Regions from separate parts of the Homo sapiens genome. Here regions 2, 3 and 4 are each linked to region 1. The links are contacts of gene promoters, found by promoter capture Hi-C in human tissues and cell types (Jung and others, 2019). All regions are on one chromosome and are shown on one strand. Each heading gives the region's core, a stretch centred on a gene start or on the middle of the fragment in contact. The rest is flanking DNA. Distances are from core to core; before and after follow the strand shown. Region 1 holds the start of HP (haptoglobin). Region 2 has its middle 260 kb from the start of PSMD7-DT. Region 3 has its middle 350 kb from the start of PSMD7-DT. Region 4 has its middle 42 kb from the start of ZFHX3-AS3.

Region 1 (3,251 bases), core at 427-2,926:
TGCATGCCACCACGCCTGACTAATTTTTGCATTTTTAGAAAATATGGGGTTTCACCATATTCGTATTGGTTAGACTGGTCTCAAACTTCCGGCCTCAGGTGATCCACCCACCTCGGCCTCCCAAGGTGCTGGGATTACAGGTGTGAGTCACTCCCCAGCCTTGAGTATCTTTTATGTGCTTTTTGGCACTTTATGTATATTTTTTGGAGAAATGTCTATTTAAATCCTTTGCCCATGCTTTAATTGTTTGTCTTTTTGTTGTTGTAGTTAGGATATGCTCTGGATAACAACCCTTTATCAGATATAGAATTTGCAAATATTTTCTCCCATTCTGTAGACTGTCTTCACTTTTTTTTTTGAGACAGAGTCTTGTTCTGTCACCCAGGCTGGAGTGCAGTGGTGCGATCTAGGCTCACTGCAACCTCTGCCTCCCAGGTTCAAGCAATTCTCCTGCCTCAGCCTCCGAGTAGCTGGGATTAAAGCATGCGCCACCATGCCTGGCTAATTTTTGTATTTTTAGTAGAGATGGAATTTCACCACATTGGTCAGGCTGGTCTCAAACTCCTGACCTCATGATCCGCCCACCTCAGCCTCCCGAAGTGCTGGGATTACAGGCGTGAGCCACCACGCCTGGCCTGTCTTCATTTTATTAATACTGTCTTTTGATACACAAATGTTCATTCCGATGAAGCCCAATTTATCTAATTTTTCTTTGATTGCTGGTGATTTTGGTGTCATTATCTAAGAATCCATTGCCAAGTTTTACTTGGTTTTGATCTCTAGAAGACTGCCATCATACTGAAGGTAATCTTCTGAAACTTGCGGTTTTCTTTCAAAAATTATGTTTATAAGATGATCCATGTTCTTGCAGAGTTTATTCATTTTATGCTGTATAATATTCCATTATATCCACATACAATGCAGTATTGACCCTTCCTCCTGTTGATGGGCATTTGTCTTGTTTCTAGTTACTTTGCTATTATATCAGTGTCACCATGATTATCCAAAAGTAATTCTTTTGTACACTCTAATTTAAGAACAACTAACCCTTTTTAATGAATAAATCAACCTTGTATTGAGTTGCTACTAAGTTTCAGTTGACTAGTACCTGGGATACACACAGGTGCAGACATTTGACTGAGACATATTGATTTTTCTCATCTGCCTATTTAGGCTAATCACCAGACTATAAAACCATGAGAACCACTGCCATTGAGTATAGTCTGTGTCAGTCTACACTATAGCTTTAACTAGTTGTGTGATTTCTTGCAAAGAGCAATCAGAGAAGACACAATAAACACATTTACTGATTTCAGGCTGGAGAGCTTTTAAGCAATAGGGAGATGGCCACACACAAGGTGGAGAAAATTACTGTGAAAAGGAAGTACTTTCTTTAGAGCCCCACCTAAGCTAGGCTGCAGAAATGTCTACAATGGGTTTGAAAAAACTCAAAATGAGCCTTTCTGCAGTGTGAAAATCCTCCAAGATAAAGAGACAGATTGATGGTTCCTGCCGCCGCCCTGTCCTGCCCAGTTGCTGATTTCAGGAAATACTTTGGCAGGTTTGTGGGTCATAGAGTTGCCAGGTTTCTTGGGATTTGTAATAGAACATCACAAGAAAATCAAGTGTGAAGCAAGAGCTCAACTCTTAACAGGGGTATTGTTTGTGGTTTTGTTACTGGAAAAGATAGTGACCTTACCAGGGCCAAAGTTTGTAGACACAGGAATTACGAAATGGAGAAGGGGGAGAAGTGAGCTAGTGGCAGCATAAAAAGACCAGCAGATGCCCCACAGCACTGCTCTTCCAGAGGCAAGACCAACCAAGATGAGGTGGGTCCACAGCTTTCCCTCCTGCCTTTCCTCTGGTTCTTTATTTCAGTCTTTTTTGCATACATCGGTAGAGATGCAGAAATAGAACAAAGAAACGGGCAAATGGGCTAAATTATAGTGAACCAAAGGGCTTAGTGTGTTAAATCTTCTCCTTTTCTGCATCCATAGAAGACAGTGCTGCTGTCTTTCCCAGGAGATAAGATTTACTCTCAGGAGTGTCTTTTTCCTTCAGGTTACATTTTTGACTTTATAGGGTATGTCATCAGCTCCCGTGGTAGGCTTCCTGGCATCCTGAGTATATTTATTAGCAGATATTTTCCTCTTTAAAAATGTACAATAAGGAAGACTAATAGTAACACATTTGAATGACACAATTAATTGACTAGTACCTGGGATACACACTAATACCTGGGATACATCTAATTAAGGCACTTAGATCTTATAAAAATAAACACTTTTTGAAATGTTGAAATAATAAGACTAGAAACTTTTTTTTTTTTTGAGATGGAGTCTCGCTTTGTCACCAGGCTGCAGTGCAGTGGCATGATCTCGGCTCACTGCAACCTCCACCTCCCAGGTTCAAGTGATTCTCCTGCCTCAGCCTCCCAGGTAGCTGGGACTACAGGCGTGCGCCACTATGCCCACCTAATTTTTGTATTTTTAGTAGAGACGGGCTTTCACCATGTTGGCCAGGATGACCTCGATCTCTTGACCTCGTGATCTGCCTGCCTTGGCCTCCCAAAGTGCTGGGATTACAGGCATGAGCCACCGTGTCTGGCCTAGAAACTATTTTAATAGAAGCAAGTAGTGCCCGAATGGTTGGCATTTGTTAGTGAGATGGTGAACTGGCAGACGGCACCTGTGGGTCAATGCCCATGGCCACCGTCCTGCTTTTGGACACCAGTTCTCTTCCAGGTAACCTTCTGGCATTTTGGGGTTTCAGATACCATTTCCTAAAGGTGAATTATTATAAAATACTAGAAATACCCACGTGTTTAAAATTATATATTTAAGGAACCTTTTATTACGGAAAATATCAAGAAGTAGAGGAATAGCACAGTAAGCCCAAAGTTCCCATCTCTGAGTTATCTACATTTTATTACCACTATCTTTGCGGTGTCTGAGGGAGGTTTCTCTTTCCTGGAGGGCTCCTGTATTATTGCCAATGTACTTTCCTGAATGCAGCCAGAAACTGAGCCCACCCCTCCACCTATGTGCCTTTCTATCCCTCTCTGAAGCTTCTGCAGAATTCCCAGCAGGACAGGGCTTGCTGGAAGCTTGGTATGCTCAGAAGCTGCTAAAGTGTGTATGGGCAGGTGTGGGGGCAATTTCTTGGTCCTAGCACTTCCATATATCGACTTTCTTTTCTGGCTGCTAAGTGGGAGGAGTGTGTGTGTATGCATGTGTGTGTGTGTGTGTGTA
Region 2 (3,251 bases), core at 542-3,041, 1.9 Mb after region 1:
AGATGTGGGAAGCTGCTCCTTGTGACTTGCTCTGCCTTTTTCCTGGTGCCAAATACCATTCTCAACCTCCAACCTCCCACTCCAGGCAGCACATCCTGTCTTTGGACAGCCCGCCATGCTAGTGTCTGCCATCCAGTAGTCACAGGCCATCTTCCCGCAGGTTCCCAACAACCTGAGAGGCTTATTAAGGAGACAGCAACAGAGACTCAAAGAGGTTAGTAATGTTGCTTTCAGTCACAAAATCAATTAAGGGGAGAGTCAGGATGCCTATGCTTTCAAGTTCGACTGGCTCCAAAGCTTGTCTTCTAAGCCCACAATGCTATTTCCTTAAAAGGACAGAAGGTTCTCCCTTCATCAGGAGCTCATTCATTCATTTTCTTCCCCCTGAGAGCCTCCATGTCCCAGCCTGGAGTTGGGCATGCTGCATAATCTCACCCTGGTCTCCTGGAGATAACGTTTCCTCCTTGCTCTCTTAGAGTAGGCAGGAGAATATGATATTTACAAGAAAGTGCTTTGATGGGGGTGTGGGGATAGCTTGGATTTGAATCTCAGGTCATCTACCTATTTGCTGTAGGACCCTGCACTATACTTCCTTATACCTGTTTCCACACTCTTCAAGTTGGCATAATAATATTCTATTTCATGATAACATACAAAAATAAGTTTTGATTCTAAACCTAGAATATAAAACAGTGCCTGGCACAAAGAATAATATATATACACCTACTAAATAAAAACTACACTCCTTCTCCCCCAAGATTGTCGTGATAGAAATGCATCATTCAGGGAGCAAGAAAAAAAGACCCCACCACAGTTCAAGATGCCACTCAAAGCATAACACTCAGGCCATGGCCTATTTGGTTTCTACATCAGGTCTGCCCCACCCACCTTTAGCTTTCAGTGGACTAAAGACAAAAAGGGTCTAATGCATTCCTGGCGGTTTTTCAAAGCATGGCAGAAGTGAGTCGGGTTTATAAGATTAATTCTTTTCACTCTAGGCAGTGGGTCATATCAGAACCTTCACTCAACCAACTCAGTGGATAATCTCCTTTTATTACTTTCAATCAAACTAAGTGTCTGCAATCTGTACAATGGCCACCAATTTAGTGGGAAACAATAATTTGTAGAGCATGATTATAAAAAGATGAGATAGAACACAAGGTCCAGATAAGCATCCTGTAAGTTTGTTCCTATCTCATTGCATAGAAAGCTTTTATGACCCAAACTACATTAGGGACATACAGCTGTTCTGCTATGCTAAAAATCAAAGAAAGAAATAGACATTGTTCACAGATCAGTTTCTTATTTAAATAAGAGAAACAGCCTATTGGTTAAATTCATATCCTTTGTCATACTCACATGGAGCGATCCATCGCTCGTACAAGTTAAACATGAAAAGATTTCATTGTATAAAAACCAGAAGCTTCTTTTAAAAGATAATAAAATTCTAGTTACACAACTGGACAACATCACAAAGCCGTCTGGATTGTGGAAACCACTCTCTTCCCGTGATGGATAATAAGGCATGGGGTTTTGCTTGCTTTGATTAATTTCAGAATATTGCAGAGAACCCGCATAATCCCTAAGATAGCAAAGGAGAGAAGGAGAAGCGATGGGCAATGATAAAAGCGTAGTAATGGAGCAGGAGCTGTGTTTCCTCTGCTGTAGGAACGCTCCCCTCTGCACCGCCGCACCCACCCTCCCCGCAAAAAAAGAAACCAATTTCATTTTGGCAAGTACTAACCACAATAAGAGTCGACACACAAAAATGTCCTCTGGCTCTGGGGCTTAAATTATATGCACCGAGGCCGAGCAATGCAAAACAAAAACTATGAGATGTCTCCATGACTGTGATCAGATATATAACATAGCTGGAAAACGTACATTTCCCTTTTTTCAAAGCACAGCAGCCATTATTTATACAAGTACTGAATATGGAAAAGGCTCTGACAAATTTACAGTGGTGTTTGGATGGATGAGGATGGTGGATGATGGATGAGGGAGACGGAGGATTCCCTTATTAAAGCATCAAATTCTTCCCTAAATATCAAATAGACATCTTAGCCACAACTGCACTGCTTCTTGCTCAAAATTACATAAACCAACCCTGTTAAATGTTTTTCTTTAATAGGAAAAGGCAGGATTTTCTCCTAATAAATATTGTTAATTTGGACTCTGGCATTACGTACCTTTCCTTTTTTGCATAATGTGGACTTCAAAGTGTATGCCTGTCAAACAAGAATAAATGTGACAATTCACAAATATAAATGAATGCCAGCAAAAAACTGAGGCACAATCTCAAGCATGCTATTTTGTTCTAAAATTTTAGTAAATAATTTAAGTAGATATAATCTTCCAAGTGTATTTTTGGTGTCTTTTTGACAGGACAGAAGCTCTGAAGGGGCGGAAACTCACCATTCACTATACGATTTTTTTATCCTGTGCCCAGATTTTAAAATATACAGAACGTTAGAAGCACTGCAGTGCCCACTAGTGGACACATCAGAATCACAGCTGCCTCCTGTCCTCTTTCAATGAAAACCAGTCCAAAGGCATTCACCATAGTGGAGTAAAAAACAGGAAGAAAGAGTATGAAATAAAAAGCATCTGCTTTAAAACCCGTTTGCGTGACCATTCACTTCTTATTTTATCTTTACAATGATAACAGAGGCATGCACAAAGAGAAAAACTTTCTTCTGCGAGGCTCAACTTTTCTATCATTTGATCCTATTGTAAAGTCAATGGTACACAGAGCTGTATTTGGCGGCACTGAAGATACTCTTTAAATGAATAAAATGCTCTGTGTTTAATGACTCTTGACCTGGAAGGAGTTAGGATATAACATATAAAAGTTCGTCTCAATACAAAGAAGTGCGTCTTTACAAATTCTAACCAATCCTACTCCAATCAAGTTACCCCTTGTTACTTGGGGTAACCCTTGCTCTGCAGCGAATTGTTAGCACAGTCTCTTTTAATAGTGACAGATCCTGTCTACTCATACCCTGTAATGACATCACTAGAAAAAAATCTTTGAGCATTAGCACAATGTACATGTAATCCAACAGCAATCTGATTATAATTTACCAGAGAACAATGTTTACACATTGCAAGTGTTACTGATTCCTTTTTTAAAAAATGAAAAACAAGCCTCATTTTGTATTTTAATGTTTCTGTTTAAAAACAATGGTGATTAAGTCCCATGAAAAATATATTTGACAGATAAATCAAAAGTTATTACTTTAACTTGATTT
Region 3 (3,251 bases), core at 452-2,951, 1.8 Mb after region 1:
CATGCAATGTTCAAACCAACACTTCGACATTTTCATGAGCTCCATCTCACAGATGAGGAAACTGGGTCTCTGGCCCAAGTAAGTGGGGTACAGCCAGATCCTGAGCTGGGTTCTGCTTCACTCACCCATGCACCTAGACATCACGTAGCTTAGTAAGGTGGATTGCTCACCACTTGCAAAGCCGATGCTCCCCAGCATCACGGGAACCACAAAAGGACCACGGAGGTGACCTTCACTTGGAGTCAATCACAATCTCAGACAAAGCCAAGGTGGGGTTTCTCCCCGATATTTTAGGCTTAGTGCTTCTTAGTTTGACCACTGACAATAACAGGCTTACAGACCAGTGTTCTTTTCTCGTTTATACTAATCCTCATGGTACTTAACACTTTACAGTTGTGATAGTTAATAAGTATGTTTAGTAAGAAGGTATAGTGGACACCTATCGTTTTTCTGGGCATCTGATGTACCCATTCCCCCTCCCAAATGCACTCTGATATCTGTAGATAATTGTATCCCCTCCATTAGGTTAGGCTTGCTGAGAAGGTGGGTTCAGGTGCCTCACTGTCATTTGAGAATTGGCAGCGTTCTGATACTTCCCAGAGGTGGGCCTGTGGCCTCAGCTTGACCAAGGTGATGTCCTCTCAAAGGACTTTGCATCTTGAACACAAGAACAGTGAGAACATGGTGAGTCTTTCATCAGAGCAGCAATGAGGGCCGGCCAACCAGGCCATTCTCCCTAGCGCTGGGTGCCAGGCTTCCTTCTTCATACCTCCAGCCCTCGGAGCTCCCTTCTCCTGCCCCTCCCTAAACCTGGTCTTCTTGTCTCTGGTTGATGCTTTTTGTTCTTCTTTTCCTCCCAATAAATCCCCGTTCGTTAAATAGCCCAGAGTTCATTTCGGCATGTGTAACAAAGAGCCATAACGAATACAGACAATAGAAAACCTGATGGTGAAATCTACAGTGTCCACATCACCCTCTGAAGTCAAGGTTCAACAATGCGGCCAAGTGGGGTGGCTCACGCCTGTAATCCCAGCAGTTTGGGAGGCCAAGGCAGGCGATCACCTGAGGTCAGGAGTTCAAGACCAGCCTGGCCAACATGGCAAAACCCTGTCTCTACCAAAAATACAAAAAAATTAGCCGGGCCTGGTGGCATGTGCCTGTAATCCCAGCTACTCGGGAGGCCGAGACAGGTGAATTGCTTGAACCTGGGAGGCAGAGGTTGCAGTGAGCGGAGATCACGCCACTGCACTCCAGCCTGGGCAACAGAGCAGGATTCCATCTCAAACAAACAAAAAAGATTTAAACAATGTAACAGTTGCTGAGTGGCATTCCCACAGCTTCCCTCTGTCCCCCTCTGAAAGTTGTATGCTGTGCATTTTACCATGTGAACGCAAAACTTACTTCCCCTTAAGGACAACTCCTTAGACACTGTAAAAAACCTAAGCATATTAACTGAAATTTTTTCACTTAAATGTAAAGGCTATCCCAGTGCAAAATTACTAAGTGTACACTGAAGGGTTTCTTTCTTTCTTTCTTTCTTTCTTTTTTTAATGAGCAGCTTTTCCTTCTTGTCCTGCCATATTGCCAAGCTCCATATTTTTATGTCAATACTCTGCATGATCAATTTATAATCTAAAGGCTTTAAAGCAGCTATTGACCTGCTTTTAAAATAGCATTTTCATTCTTTCTCATGATTTCATAATCTTCTTTACACCATTTCCTTGCCTTGGAACTTGTCCCCTTCAAAAATGGTCAATGTTGTCCTGATCAATTTAAACTAGGAGGAAAGGTCCAGTGAGTGCTCTGGCGGGATTTGTCCAGGTCACTATTCTTTAAGAATATGTCACATTAACCTCCCCAGTAGCTAGTCATGTTCACAACACTCTTTTAAAAACCTTATCCTGGTCAAGGCACACATAAATTGTACAACTTTTGAAACACAGTTGGTCGCAGAGCTGCAAATTCATAGTAGAGCAACCTACAGGGTGTTTTAGAAAAGACAGCATTTTAAATATGACTCATGAATAAGCAAACAGCCCCGACCACCCAAATCAACTTGAAGAGTAAACACAGAGGGAATGTTTAGCTAAATTTTAGATGCCATTTGATGAAGGAAAAGGGCTAAAACTTATCAGCTGAGAATGAATTATGTCAATACCACAAACGCTAAGCAACTGCAGAGAACTGTCTTCAAGCAAAAGTTACACAGGCAAAAGGCTAACTGTTTATGCACCATAGATAAAATACACTCTACTACAAAGGGATTGCCCATGCAAAAGATAACTGGAGAAATGCTTTAGAAAACGCAGGATATACATACATAACTTATTTGTGTATTTGCATGACTGTATTTAAGGATTATCATGGGAAAGAAATAGGCGCTTACATATATACTGGGACAGAAAATAAAAACTAGGCAGCTTTTAACTTGTTTCTATCTATAAGTTCTGGTATGTGACCTACTGAAGCCAACTACCCCAATATAAAGCTGTGGAGGTAACAGTATTCATGATACATAAGACTTAGAGAGAAACCAAAAGGAACTTCATAATGTTTAACCGGGCTTCCTGTTTATTTAGAGGGAGGTAGCGGTCTCCTGCTTTAGCAAGTTTTTTACAGACAGAGATTAAGTCTCTTATATGTGGAATCTTGGGGCCCCAGGACAGTGCCTGGAACAAAGCAGATGCTCAATAAACATTCATTTCATTCAGTCCAATTCTCGTGTATCTTCTCTCAGTGTCAAGCTTCTAACTGGGAATAAAGTAGTTTAATAAAGCTTCTTGAATCTTTGGAAAAGAAAACCTTTGACTCTTTATTGAGCTATTTCTGAATACAGAGTATACGTAGGAAGGTCAAAATTTCATCTTTTCCATCTTCCTCACTAGAAACCTAGTTATATGTCATCTTTAGGGATAAAGAAAGATAGGTCCCTCATAATCAATTTACATACAATCAAGGTTTGCTGTTTGCATTGTGTGCAATTCAGGGACCTCGAGAGAATCTCCCCCGTACCACTGGGCATTAGACAAGCCATCCAAGTTACATATTCCATCTCAACTAGCAAGCCAAAGGCAATGGCAGTAACAAAGCATTGCCTGCAGCCAATCCTGGGAATCACGAAGCGTCCGCCCCACATGTGTGCCATGCATCTGTTCAGTCCTACGGAGGAGAGACAAGACTCAAGGAGAGAGAAACCAAAACGAGGGCGGAAGGAGGAAAAAGCCAAAGCGGCTTCACACTAGTCCACGTCA
Region 4 (3,251 bases), core at 227-2,726, 1.1 Mb after region 1:
CACACCCCGGGGATTCCAAACCCTTTCCGGGCATGCCAAAGGCCAGTGAGCAGCTAGCAGAATTCTAATCACGTGATCATTGTTCACTGGGGTCGGCAGATGCCACTGTCATTGCTTCCTTTACGTTTATTGCTTGAGACACTTGAAATTAGGCCTGACATAGCAATAACAAATGTACTACAGGGAACGAGCCGGCACTGGACCCTAGGGAATGATCTAGAAGACTTAATAGGTCTTTTCCGTCTTTAATTTCCATGGTTCTAAATATGCCGGCTGCTTATAAAGCAGAAGATTGATTCTGAGGCAGACTGGTTAGTTTTGGAAGCAGTGAGTGGAGAGGATTTTGCTTTTTGCAGCCATGTTCCTTGATGCCCACTTTAGGCTGGATGTGGTTTCTGAGGGCAGCCCTGGCATCTCTCCTTTCACCTCTCTTTGGTAGGGAGCAAATGGGGAAGGAGTTGTCTTGGGCATTCCCCCTGAGCTCACCAACAAGGTATGAGCATCTCCGTGTACCGGGAACTCCTCCTTGTCTGTATGGTGAAAGTGTAAGGACTGGGCAGGCATGGTGGCTCATGCCTGTAATCCTAGTGCTTTAGGAGGCTGAGGCAGGAGGGTCACCTGAGCCCAGGAGTTCAAGACCAGCCTGGGCAACATAGGGAGACCCTCATCTCTAAAAAAATTAAAAAAAAAATTAAAAACTAAAAGTCTAAAGACACACAATTGAGAAATGGAGGTGATGTTATGGGCTCACCAACATCTCACATCCACTCTTGAAAGAAGCCAAGTGCTCAGCGTCAGTGGTGAGCCTCCCTAGGAAGAAGTCTTTTTGTTTCTTCATAAGATAGAGTGAGCATCTTGACCACTCCTTATCTGAGGCCAAGGGACTAAGACTCACCTTAAGGAACGCACCTTTGGAAGCAGGAAGCTGCTGACATGTGTAATGGTGTGACTTCGTATTACACAGCTGGTGAATTCATTTTGGAAGTGGCTGTGTGGGGGAAGAAGTTGCTGTTTTTCCTTTGGTAATTGTTCCCATTGGCTTCGCCCACCCCCATCCCCACTATGATGCAAGGAAACAATTATAGGAATAAAAAAGACACAGCTAAGTTTAGAGAGAATGGGGACAGGCACTAGGAGTTTCCAAGTTTTCTTTGAGCTCACACATAGATTGCCTTTTTCTGGACATGGGAAAGAAGAACAATTTCAGTTTTTCCAGCCATAAAACAGGGAACTTAATGATTGCTTGCATCATAGAAAATGTTATAAGGACAAACTAGCTTACATTTTTACACTGGCCTGCAGACACACTCTATTACATAAGTGAAGAGGATCTTTCATGACAGTGAAGGTGTGCGTAAGAAGGGGACCCAGGCATCTGTTCACTTTTCTGTCTCCATTTCCAGGGTGAGATACACAGCTGGAAAAGCTACTTGTTGTGGCTGATGAAATGCCAGCACTGATATCATGCTTTGAACCGTTTTATCCGGATTTAAGGAGCCAGTTTCCAATTAATCAGACTCCAAGGTCACTCACCGAACCAGTGTCTCAGGTAGAGGAGGATTATGTGTGGGGGAGAGCAGAGTGGGGACATGAGGGACTACAGGGCGAAGGAAGAAAAGGGAGAAGGATAGAGACCAGGGTGAAGAGGGACTGGATTTTTTTTTTTTTGTAAATTGCCGGAATTTGAAATAATCATTGGTTAGGGGAAACGTGTTGGCTTACTAAAAACCCTTTTTAGTTTGCTACCCCCTAAAAATGGGACCAAATCCATGGCTGAAAAGGATCCTGCTTTCCTGGTGGCTGTGTGGTGGCTCTGCCCAGCCTGATGTCATATTCAGAGGCGTGGGAGAGGCAGAGCCCCTCCTGCAGGAGCTGTTTCATCAGGATTCTGTGGGCTTTCTATGCAACCCCTCTTAAAAATCTGAAAATGAAACAAGACATATTTCTGAGGTTGTCAGCAGGTAGATCCACTGGTTTGTGGTAAGTAATCTCTCTGGGAGGAAGTCTTGGCTCTGATGTCTGTGTTGAACGTTCCGTGGCTCCCCCCGGCCGCCCCAGCACAGGTCTGTTCGCTGGGCAAGGAGGCGGTGATGATATTGCTTCTAACAACCAGACTGAAGCGTAGCCTCAGGCTGTCTTGCAAAGCCCCTTCCAAACTGCCTCTAATTAATTTTTATCCTGCCATCCCAATGAGTCCCGGGGGTACAACAACCCAACAACAGAAAAACCCTCATCAAGTCATTTGGAGAAAGCTTTGACGTAACGCTTGCAGATTTTAGATCTCCAAAAGAGGAAATGCTGCAGAAAAACAAAAAACCAAACCAAACCCCTCCCGTTTGGTCACCTCCATCCTACTCGATTTTTCCCCCCAGATTCTCACCTTTTCTTTACAGTGGCAGTAAGTCTGATCTCTCTCTGGTCCCCTCTCACCCACGGCTCTTTCAGAGACAATACAGAGCTGTATTTCTTTTTTTTTTCTGCGGGAAGACAACCCTGAATTCCCTGTGGTCTGGGGTCAGGTACCTGCACTGGGCTGCCCTGGGAATCTCTTAAAAGAGGGGAAGGAGAAAAGCTGGCCTCTCTGGCTTGTAGCCGCGGTGGGGCCAGGCCTCCTCATGCTGTGCAAACACGCTTTAGTGGACATATGTTGGGAGCAGAGGGAAGGTTCCACAAAGAGGAATCTGACCCACCAAACACATCAAACATGCAGCACCCTGGGCCTCCCCCGTTAGAAGTGCTGCTGGCAGCAGCTCAGTCGCCCTACTTGGCTGTGTGGTGGGGGGTTCACGCAAAACTATTCAGGTTGCTTTTCTTCTTATTCCGAGGGGATCTGGGGACAGAGGGGTGCCTTCCTCCCTGGCACTAGCACATGAGCCTCACTTGCTACCTTCCCTCCAGCTCTGGAAGTCTCAGCCCCTGGGATCAGATGTCCACTGATCTCCTCCCCAAACACCCTATCCCACCGCCGTTGCAAAGCCCTCCCTGCCCCTCTGCGTCTGTTCAGGATGCTTCTCTTAGGACCTTGGAATGAATGAAAATTTAGGAAGAGTGACTGTTTGAAATGAGGCATTGAGAGGTGCTGAAACCCAAACCACCCGCCGCCCTGGCTTCCTGGGATTTCTGGACAAAAAAGGTTGAGTGACTTCTCCCCTCCCCGGGACACAACAGAGGAGAGTGATCCGGTGCCAGCGGCCCTGGTGTTAATTTCATGATCACCGGGTGCCAAAGAAAGTTACTCAGGATCCGCTGGA

Evidence for each region. Contacts are between HindIII fragments. The study calls those that stand out against the background at their distance.
Region 2: a contact is called between a fragment that was not itself captured here and the fragment with the promoter of HP in region 1, in 1 of the 25 tissues and cell types used here (dorsolateral prefrontal cortex).
Region 3: a fragment that was not itself captured here is called in contact with the fragment with the promoter of HP in region 1 in 1 of the 25 tissues and cell types used here (dorsolateral prefrontal cortex).
Region 4: a fragment that was not itself captured here is called in contact with the fragment with the promoter of HP in region 1 in 1 of the 25 tissues and cell types used here (mesenchymal stem cells).

What each region holds. Positions count from the first base shown.
Region 1 is chr16:72,052,829-72,056,079 of GRCh38, forward strand. It overlaps HP (haptoglobin), which reads left to right and starts at 1,677. Exons shown (of 7, transcript NM_005143.5): 1 at 1,677-1,829. The coding sequence starts at 1,825. The HindIII fragment of the contact is 10,372 bases long and covers 1-3,251 here.
Region 2 is chr16:73,954,297-73,957,547 of GRCh38, forward strand. No RefSeq gene overlaps it. Among named protein-coding and RNA genes, the nearest start is that of PSMD7-DT, 260 kb to the right of the region's middle. The HindIII fragment of the contact is 3,438 bases long and covers 73-3,251 here.
Region 3 is chr16:73,867,242-73,870,492 of GRCh38, forward strand. It overlaps a transcript of ZFHX3 not described here. Among named protein-coding and RNA genes, the nearest start is that of PSMD7-DT, 350 kb to the right of the region's middle. The HindIII fragment of the contact is 3,836 bases long and covers 1-3,251 here.
Region 4 is chr16:73,189,258-73,192,508 of GRCh38, forward strand. It overlaps a transcript of ZFHX3 not described here. Among named protein-coding and RNA genes, the nearest start is that of ZFHX3-AS3, 42 kb to the right of the region's middle. The HindIII fragment of the contact is 4,064 bases long and covers 1-3,251 here.